Linked DNA regions of Homo sapiens: all the other regions are linked to region 3. Evidence: promoter capture Hi-C in 16 types of primary human blood cells and fetal thymus (Javierre and others, 2016). All regions are on one chromosome and are shown on one strand. The core of a region is centred on a gene start or on the middle of the fragment in contact, and the rest is flanking DNA. Distances in the headings are between cores, read along the strand shown. Region 1 has its middle 75 kb from the start of NALF2. Region 2 overlaps NALF2 (NALCN channel auxiliary factor 2). Region 3 holds the start of AWAT2 (acyl-CoA wax alcohol acyltransferase 2).

Region 1 (3,059 bases), core at 358-2,857, 620 kb after region 3:
CTGGTTTATTAACATACCCTTTACTGACTGCATTTGCTTCCCTTTCTGACTTTCCCACTGCTCTACTGGTATTCCCACCCCACCCAATAAACTAGCTGCACTCAGATCCTTGTCTCTGTGTCTGCATCTGAGAGAACCAAACTGAGATAATTGCCTTCTTTCATTTCTTCCAAGAGGTCAAGTCCTTTGCCTTTGCTGTTTCCTTTGCTTGTATGCTCTTCCCTTAGATGTTCACACGGTTCACTCCCTCACTTTGTTACTAGCTCAAAAGCCACCTCTGCACATAGGCCATCCAGGACCACCCAAATTATAGTAATTCCTCCCTCCCTTTCATTGTCTGTCAGTTTTATTTTTCTGTGAGCCTTTTCACTATCTGATTTTATTTTGTTAATTTACTTGTTCATGTGTCTATTATCTAGCTCCCCTTAGTATCAGCTTCATGAGAGCAGGAACCTTGACCAACTTGTTCACTGCTCTATCCGGACTGCAGGGCACAAAATGAGTGAGCAAACGATTATTTTCCACAATTCTTGGAGTCCTGTTTATTTTCCCTAGTATTCTCTCCCGATTCTCTGTTCTTAACCTGCCCCTCTGGATGCCACAAAATTAGTGCTTCCATATCCTTCTATCCTTTAAAAGTGCCAGTTAGTATATTTTTCAGTTGTGAATCCCTTTCATCTAAGTCTTAATGATATCTTTGATTTTTTTTTACTTCTTCGTATTGAAAAATCTCATTTTGCTTTGTTTTCAGCTCTTACTCTTCACACTGGTATATTGACAGTCAAGGCTGGAAGCGCCATGCCCGATTTCCTTCTCAGTCATTTTCTCCTGCAAATCACTGGGTGTCTCTTTCACTATTATTCTTCTGTCGCTGATATGTCTGTTGCTGTCTATAGTATCTGGTCTTACAGTCTGATATGGGCATGTTTTGCTCCCCCCTTCCACCACCTTTTCCAGTTAAAGTCATCTTGATCAGATCGGCAAGTCTCCAGGCAACCACATTCTTCCTTACTGAGATGCACTCGATCCCTAGCCAAAAGTCTATCCCTCCAGTATCTTAAGCCATTGTCCAAAACACAAATTTGCACAGCTTCAACCCTTCCCTGCATCTCCAGCTGTGCTGGCTACAGCCACCCCCACACCTAGCCTCAAGGGACCTCTGACCTCCAAGCTAGCCCTGCAGCGACTGAGATGTAGACAAATCCTATTCCCTTCAGTTCAGATGAAACAATATTAGAATTTATCAAAAGGAAATTTGCTAGGAAGCCAAGTGAAAAACAAAACCAGAGAAAGGGAGGGAGAGAGGGAGAGAGGGAGAGAGAAAATACAAAAGCTTAGGAGAGGATGCATTACACACTCCCGATTCCTTATCCTGAGATAACTACACTCTGGTTGAAGATTGTCTTGGCTAGCACAGCTCACAGGGCACACAGGATATGAGACTATAATCCTTCAACCTTTTCACAAAGGGGCGATAGCCATGGGGCGGGGGAAGAGCTTGCAGAAAGGCAAAAAGAGTCTTTGTGTGTCTGGACTGTTTCATTCCACAGAAATGGTACCTGAAGAAGTGTGAACTCCCAGCAGCTCTGGGAGGGGCAGGAAACCCTACCTACCAGCCCTTGTTTCCCTGGAAGCTCCTTGCAAACTTACTGAACTCATCTATTAGTTCTGATAGTTTTTAGTGGCTTCTTTAGGATTTTCTATATACAAGATCATGCCATCTGCAAATAAAGTTAGCTTTACATCTTCCTTTCCAATCTGGATGTCTTTTATTCTCTTTTCTTGCTTAATTGCCCTGGCTAGAAATTCCAGTACAATGTTGAATAGAACTGGCAAAAGTGGATATCTGCATCTTGTTCTTGGTCTTAGCAGGAAGCTTTCAGTTTTTCACCATTGTATGATGTTAGCTGTGGGTTTTATGTAGATGTAGTCTCACTAATTCTTTCATAAATAACCAATGCTTTATTGTAAAGCTCTGCTATACTTTTTGCGTTTTCTTTATTTTACTTTTAGCCTCCTTTTCTTGTACATTTTCTTTTGAAAAATCTTGACTGTCTCAGCAGTGCTAGAGAAATCGAGAGGGAAAGGCTTGATTTTCTTTCAGTCATCTATTCAGCAAGCATTTATTAACTGCCTACTATGTGCCAACACTGTCCTAGGTTTTTGGGGATATAGTAATGAACAAAATAAAGTCTCTATCCTCTGGAACTCACATTCTAGGGATGAACTTAGACAATAAGTAAATAGTCAAGACAATTACATGGAAAGATAAGTGCTGAGAAGGAAGAAATCAGGGTGTTATGAAAGGGAGGGCTTCTACGGCTGCTTTATAGAGAGTGATCAGGGAAGATCTCTTTGTGGAGGTGACATAATGGCTGGGATCTGAATGATAAGAAAGAGCAAGCCATCAGAAGAGCTCAGAGAAGAGTGTCCCAGCAGATGGAACAAGTGCACATGACTTGAGGTGGGAATGAGCCAGGCAAGTGGGTAGGGGGAGGGCAACCAAGAAGGCAGCTCAATGTGGGAGGGAGAAAAGGGGAGAGTGGGAGGTGATGAGGACAAAGCCAGACACTGATCTTGCAGGCAAGGATACTGGAGAAGCCAATACGTGATGGGAAGCCACTGGAAGGTGTTAAACAGAGGATGCTGTAATCTAATTTAAGTTAGTAAAAAAAAATCCCTCTGGCTGATGTATCCGTACATATCTAGATATCAGGCTTTGTGAAGCACAGGGCTATTTGGAGTTGGTCCAGAAATTTCGGATAGTTGGAGGGCCTCTGTTCACCTCTGCAGCATCGCCTCACAGAGCAGCCCAATAAGCCAAATCATGTCCCTCCTTTCCTCAAAACCTTCCTATGGCTCCCTATTTCTCTGAAAATGAATACTTTCTCGGTGGCCATTAGGACACTACCAAATCTGCCCCTCTCCATCACTCTCTGCCCTTTTTGCTATTGCTGACGCCCTTGCTTACTCCTTCCAACCATACCAGCTTCCTTGCCTATTCCTCAAACAAGTCAAGCATGTTTCTACCACAGGCCCTTTGTACTGGCTGTTCCCTT
Region 2 (2,903 bases), core at 313-2,812, 540 kb after region 3:
GCATAGATATACAATGGACTATTACTCAGCCATAAAAAGGAATGAAGTACTGATGTATACTGCAACATGGATGAACCTTGAACACTAAATGTTCATGCTAAATGAAATAAGCTGGACACAAAAGGACAAATAGTGTATGACTCCACTTATATGAAGTACCTACTCAAATTCCTAGAGACAGAAAGTAGAATAATGCTTACCAGGGGCTGGAAGGAGGGAAGAATGGGGAGTTTTTTTTTTTTTTAATTTTTTGAGACAGAGTCTTACTCTGTCACCCAGGCTGGAGTGCAGTGACGCGATCTCAGCTCACGGCAACCTCCACCTCCCAGGTTCAAGTGATTCTCCTGTCTCACCCCGAGTAGCTGGGATTACAGGTGTGCACCGCCATGCCCGGCTAAGTTTTGTATTTTTAGTAGAGCTGGGGTTTCGCCATGTTGGCCAGGCTGGTCTTGAACTCCTGACCTCAGGTGATCTGCTCAGCTCGACCTCCAAAAGTGCTGGGATTACAGGTGTGAGCCACCGCGCCCGGCTGGGAGTTCTTGTTTAATGGGCACAGAGTTTCTGTTTGGGAGGATGAAAACGTTTTAGAAATGGATAGTGGTGATAATTGTACAATACTGCAAATGTGCTTAATTCCACTGAATTGTACACTTAAAAATAGTTGAAATGGTATATTTTATGTTATGTACATTTTACCACGGGAAAAAAAAAAGACTAAGTGCTCTGGGACTTTTTTCCTTTTATACTTCTACTTTCCAAAATTTCTCAAAGGCCTTTTTGGTTAACTGGAAAAAAAGATATTATAAGATTCTGAGACTATAATAATTCTAAGAGATTAACTTAGTTGGAAGTTTTAATGAGTTCAACACTAAACAGACAAGCTCACCTTTCACAGATCAGCCAGGTAGCCATGCTATCTTCTTAAAACCAAATAAGACAGGGAACATTGGTAACACCCATCACCACCAAATGCCCCTCTTCTGGCAGAACTTGGTGGACTGGCACTTCCTTCAATCCCCAAGAAAAGCCTAGGTGTTCAAGTTTAGGGGCTCACCAAAACCCTTGCATGGGAACTGGGCATCCAAAGCCCAGGCCAGGCCTCAGCGGACTCTGGGGCAACAAAGTCTTACTGCAGTCGTTTTCCCTTCCAGCTCTACCAGCATGTGCAAGGATATGGAGAAACTGCACATGTTGAGGTGTAGTGGATGTGGAGGCCAGGGTCTCAGGTCTGCATTAGGCCTGCTTAGGGACTAACTTAGGTTAATGTTCTGCACCTTCTCCCCTCGTGCTCTGCTTGATCCCTCCAGCAGATTGGGGCTGAGAATATAACAGAGATACCTTCCCTCCAGGCGAGAGGAGCCCAGGTCCTCCCATCTCCTTTGCAGTTCCTTCCCTGTGCCCATTCTCTTGTTGCTATTCCAGGAAGGTAACAGTGATTGTCACTGGGTCCAAGGACAAGAGACTGGGACGTTGAACAAAGAGGATGTTGGTGGGTCCTCGTTTTGGATCTGGGCCACTCCAGAGGACCTCTAAGCTACCAATAGGCTCTGTTGGGCCTCCCTTCCAGTCGGCCCAGCTTCTCAGCCCAGCCTCTCAGTAGCCAGCTGGGCACTACCTCTGACAGTTGGAGGAGATTATTAGCATTTTCTTCATGCATCTGTGCACTGGAGAAAGAACAGACAGACCTAGGTTTGTATGCCAGTCCTTTTGCTATGTGGCCTGGGTAGGTCATTTCACCTCACTGAGCCTCAGTTGTCTCATGTGTAAAATGGGAATCATGATAGTGCCTGCCTGCTAGGATGACTGCCAGGATTAAATGAGTTCATGAACATATATAAAGCCCCTGGCATCTCCTAGGCACTCAAAGACTCGCAATTTTCTTCTTTCCTTCCCCTTTCTTAGCCCTTTCGTCTTTGCAGCCAGTTGGCCTCATCTTCTGGTGCACAGACTTGTGGCTCAGGTTCCAGCTCCTTTCTCCAGAATGCATTCGAGCAGGAGCTTTGGCCCTGGCAGTCCCTGTCACTCCATAGTAACTCCTTCCCTCTCCAGAGCCAGCTGCAGCTCGCCTGGTGCCCTTGCCCTCCCCTCTAAGCACCTATCTGGCTAACAGTATCAAAAATTCAGGCGTTACTGAGCCCACTTTTATGCCCAGGGAGAAAAGGCTGGTCCAGCATCCCTGGCCTCTTGCACACACTCTGGTCTGTGTGCCTGTAATCACACAAAACGCAAACATACCCATTCCCCAGAGACCTACCAGGCCAGCATCGGAGAATGGTGCTTGTAGGGGTCCAGATTTGTCCAGATCCCCAGAAGCAGGGGCCACCCCTGGCTTTCAGCTAACACTGGCAGCTGGAATCCACATGTGGCTGAGAAATGAGCTGGGGAGGGCAGGTTTGATGCCCAGTCTGTATGGGCACACAGAAGGTAAACTGCCTCAGAGGGTGGGGGCACAGAATAACTGCCCCAAAGGAGTTTTTCTAAGGCACACTCCCGCCCCTGAGTCTGAGGTTCAGCCTATGTCCCTACCCACATGTAAAAAAGTGAGTATACCCTTTCCTTAGGGTACTGACACATCCAGAGGGGACCAACATGCATCCGCATGGCTTAGAAGCACCCTCGCATGCTTACGATGTGTTGGGAGATTCTTGACCCTCCTTTGATCTTGGTTCCACCCACTGTCTTCCCTTTCCTCACTCCCACCTTCACCATGTTCAGCAGACTCTTCCTGCCAGACCATGGTATTGGGTGGGAGGCTGTTAGGCTCCCTTTCTCCACCTAACTCCCCCAACCCCCACCTTCAGGAGATACCAGTGTATCCTTCCTGGAGGTTCCCGTTGCTATGGTGACTGTAGTAGTCAGGCACCAGCCTGCGGGAAGGATGGGAAGTAGCCATGAAGAAGACC
Region 3 (2,921 bases), core at 334-2,833:
GCCACCACGCCCGGCTAATTGTGTATTTTTCAGTAGAGATGGGGTTTCTCCATGTTGGTCAGGCTGGTTTCGAACTCCCGACCTCAGGTGATCTGCCTGCCTCGGCCTCCCAAAGTATGACCTTGAGGGAACTCTTTTTTCAAAATTCTATTATAAAAAAATTCAAACCTACCGAGTAGTTGAAAGAATTGTACAGTGAATACCCACCACCTAGATTGTACAGATAATATTTTATGTTATCTGTACAGAAATATAAAATATAAAATATTAAAATATAAAAATATATTTAATATATTATATATAAATATTAATATATAAAAATATATTAAAATATAAAAAATATTAAAATATTAAAAATATAAAATATTTATATATTTTACTAGATTTAATAAATCAATCTTTGTTTGATTTATTACATATTTATCCATCAGTACATCCCTGTATCCATCCATCAATATATTTTACATGCATTTCAAAGTAAATTGCAGACATCAGCACTCTTTTTTGTTTTGTTTTTTTAGAGACAGTGTCTCACTCTGTCATCCAGGCTGGAGTGCAGTGGCACGGTCATAGCTCACTGTAATCTCTAATTCCTGGCCTCAAGTGATCCTCCTGCCTTGGCCTCCCAAAGTGCTGGGATTACAGGTGTGAGCTACCATGCCCAGCCTAGTATTCTTCACCCCTAAACACTTCAGAATTAATGAGAGTTCAACTTTTTTTTTTTACTTTCGAGGTAAAATCCACAGGCAGTGAAACGTACACATTTTAAGTGTATACTCACTGAGTAATGAGGTTTTGATCTGTGTAACTCACAGTCCTATCAAGACAGAGAACGTCACTGTTACCCCTAAAGGTTTCCATCATGCCCCTTCCTAGTCAATCCCCAAGCACAGGTAACCACTGCTGTGATTTGTTTCACTATAGATTGGTTTTGCCTATTCTAAAATTTCATGTACACAGAATAATATACACCAATATTTGTTTCTTCATTCAATAATAGGTTTATTCAGTACCTATGATAGCTCACAGACATACATGTGATGTCTCTTCAATGTGAGTAATGAGTTCTCCCAGACTGACTAAAAGGCTGAAGGTATTTCTAAGGCCTTGCCTGTGACCTCCTTCCCTCTGCCCTCCAATCCCATTGTCACTGAGAGACCATAGACAGTTGGGCCTCAGAAACAGAAATGCAAGCCCTGTGTCCCATTTGAGCCCTGGGCTCCTTCCTGCCCATCACTCTCCACCATCCAGACTGGCCCTGGAGGCCTCTTGTCAGCTGCACGCCCACACTAACTTTCACACCAGGGTTTCATCACATTTCTCTAGCCAAGTGCGCAAAGGAGTGTCACAATCTCAGTCCAGGCAATACCCAAGTGGGTAAAAGTACAGGTGAGTGGGCAGCTGGAAGGAACTGGATAAGCAGAGGCATTATATGGTCCTGTAATTCTGTGGAGGGGTGGTACAGGGGCGGAGGCTAGCCAGAGGCTGGGGAAGAAAACATTAAGAGAGGAAACATCACAGACTCCTGAGCAATCAGGGCTGGGCAGCTGAACAGTGCTTACCTGGAGCCACTGGGACGCTGGGCACAATGCTCTTGCCCTCTAAGAAGGACCTCAAGACTGCCCTGGATGTCTTTGCTGTTTTCCAGTGGTCCTTCAGTGCCTTGCTTATCAGTGAGTCTTCAGCCTTTGGTAGGGTGACCAACCATCCTGGCTTGCCTGAGACTGAAGGATTTTAGGGTTGCAGGATGTTCAATGGTCAAACTAGGGTTGTTCCAGTAAAACCAGGAAGGTTGGTAACACCAGCCTCTGGCCTGACCCACCTGGCCATGGTATTTGTGGGATCTGTGAGTGTCCCTGTGGGCATGTGTGTGTGCATATGGGTGTGTGCCTATGCAGGGGTGTGTATATGCACGTCTATGCACATGGACTTTGCTGCAGGTGTGAGCCCTTCTCGGTCTACATTGGGGTGTAGAGGGCATTCTTTGGGAAGATGAGGAGCAGTTCCACTGAGGCTAGCCAAGGAAAAGGGCTTGGCTGCAATCACAGGGACTCAAGCAAACCACCAATTAGAGATAGTTGGGTCAGGTGGCAGACCGAGGCTCTGGAAACCTCATCCTGAGGAATTCGACAATTTATCCATCCATGTCTTCCAACGCTTACACTACAAACACTTTGTGAAAGTTATTTCTATGCTGGCCACTGTGTTCTAAATGCTGAAACAAATCATCACTGTGGGAAGGGGTCCTGGAAAACATTCTTGCCTTTCCAGTGGTTCAGGTGAGTACTGGCTGGAGTCAGGGAAATGAATTAAGTGACCTTGCAAGCTATCTAGGAATAAAGAATGCAGATAGGCCTTGGTGCACAGAGCTGGCACAGAGGCACGCCAGTGAATAGGAAGGGTGGGCATTCCTTACCTCACCTCACCTGTTTTCAAATTCCAGTTCTACTACTTACTATCTGTGTAATTCTTAGCAAGGTATTTATCCTTTCTGAGTCTTGTTTTCCTCATTTGCAAAGTGGGAGCATTCAGGGTGTATTAATCAGGATGGTCTAGGTATGCCGTGCTGATAAATTCACCCTGAAATCTCAGTGGCTTAACCCAGCAAATGTTTATTTCTTGTTCATGCTGAATGTCCAACATAGGTTGGTGGGAGTCACCGCTCACTGTGGACATTGATATTCAGGCTGACGGAGGCACCACCAAATTGTGTCGCTGCAAAATGGGGCTTGAGGGATTACCACAGCATGGGAGGGAAAGTGAATGGAGAACTCATTCACAGTCCTTACTACCTCCACCCAGAAGTGATAGGCAAGAAACCATGAGCTGTCGCCTCATTTTGAACGTCCTTAATTACTGATGAGTTTGAGCATCTTTTCATGTTTATCAGCAATTAGTATTTCTTTTTCTGTTAACTGCCC

What was found. Contacts are between HindIII fragments. The CHiCAGO score rates a contact against its expected background, and 5 or more counts as called.
Region 1: a contact is called between a fragment that was not itself captured here and the fragment with the promoter of AWAT2 in region 3, in 1 of 17 cell types (M1 macrophages). The highest score is 5.3, in M1 macrophages.
Region 2: a fragment that was not itself captured here is called in contact with the fragment with the promoter of AWAT2 in region 3 in 1 of 17 cell types (M1 macrophages); the score reaches 6.3 in M1 macrophages.

The regions. Positions count from the first base shown.
Region 1 is chrX:69,427,879-69,430,937 of GRCh38, reverse strand. No RefSeq gene overlaps it. Among named protein-coding and RNA genes, the nearest start is that of NALF2, 75 kb to the left of the region's middle. The HindIII fragment of the contact is 543 bases long and covers 1,336-1,878 here.
Region 2 is chrX:69,511,539-69,514,441 of GRCh38, reverse strand. All of the region lies in intron 1 of NALF2 (NALCN channel auxiliary factor 2), which reads right to left. Among named protein-coding and RNA genes, the nearest start is that of NALF2, 8.7 kb to the right of the region's middle. The HindIII fragment of the contact is 5,338 bases long and covers 1-2,903 here.
Region 3 is chrX:70,048,600-70,051,520 of GRCh38, reverse strand. It overlaps AWAT2 (acyl-CoA wax alcohol acyltransferase 2), which reads left to right and starts at 1,583. Exons shown (of 8, transcript NM_001002254.1): 1 at 1,583-1,673. The coding sequence starts at 1,589. The HindIII fragment of the contact is 8,371 bases long and covers 1-2,921 here.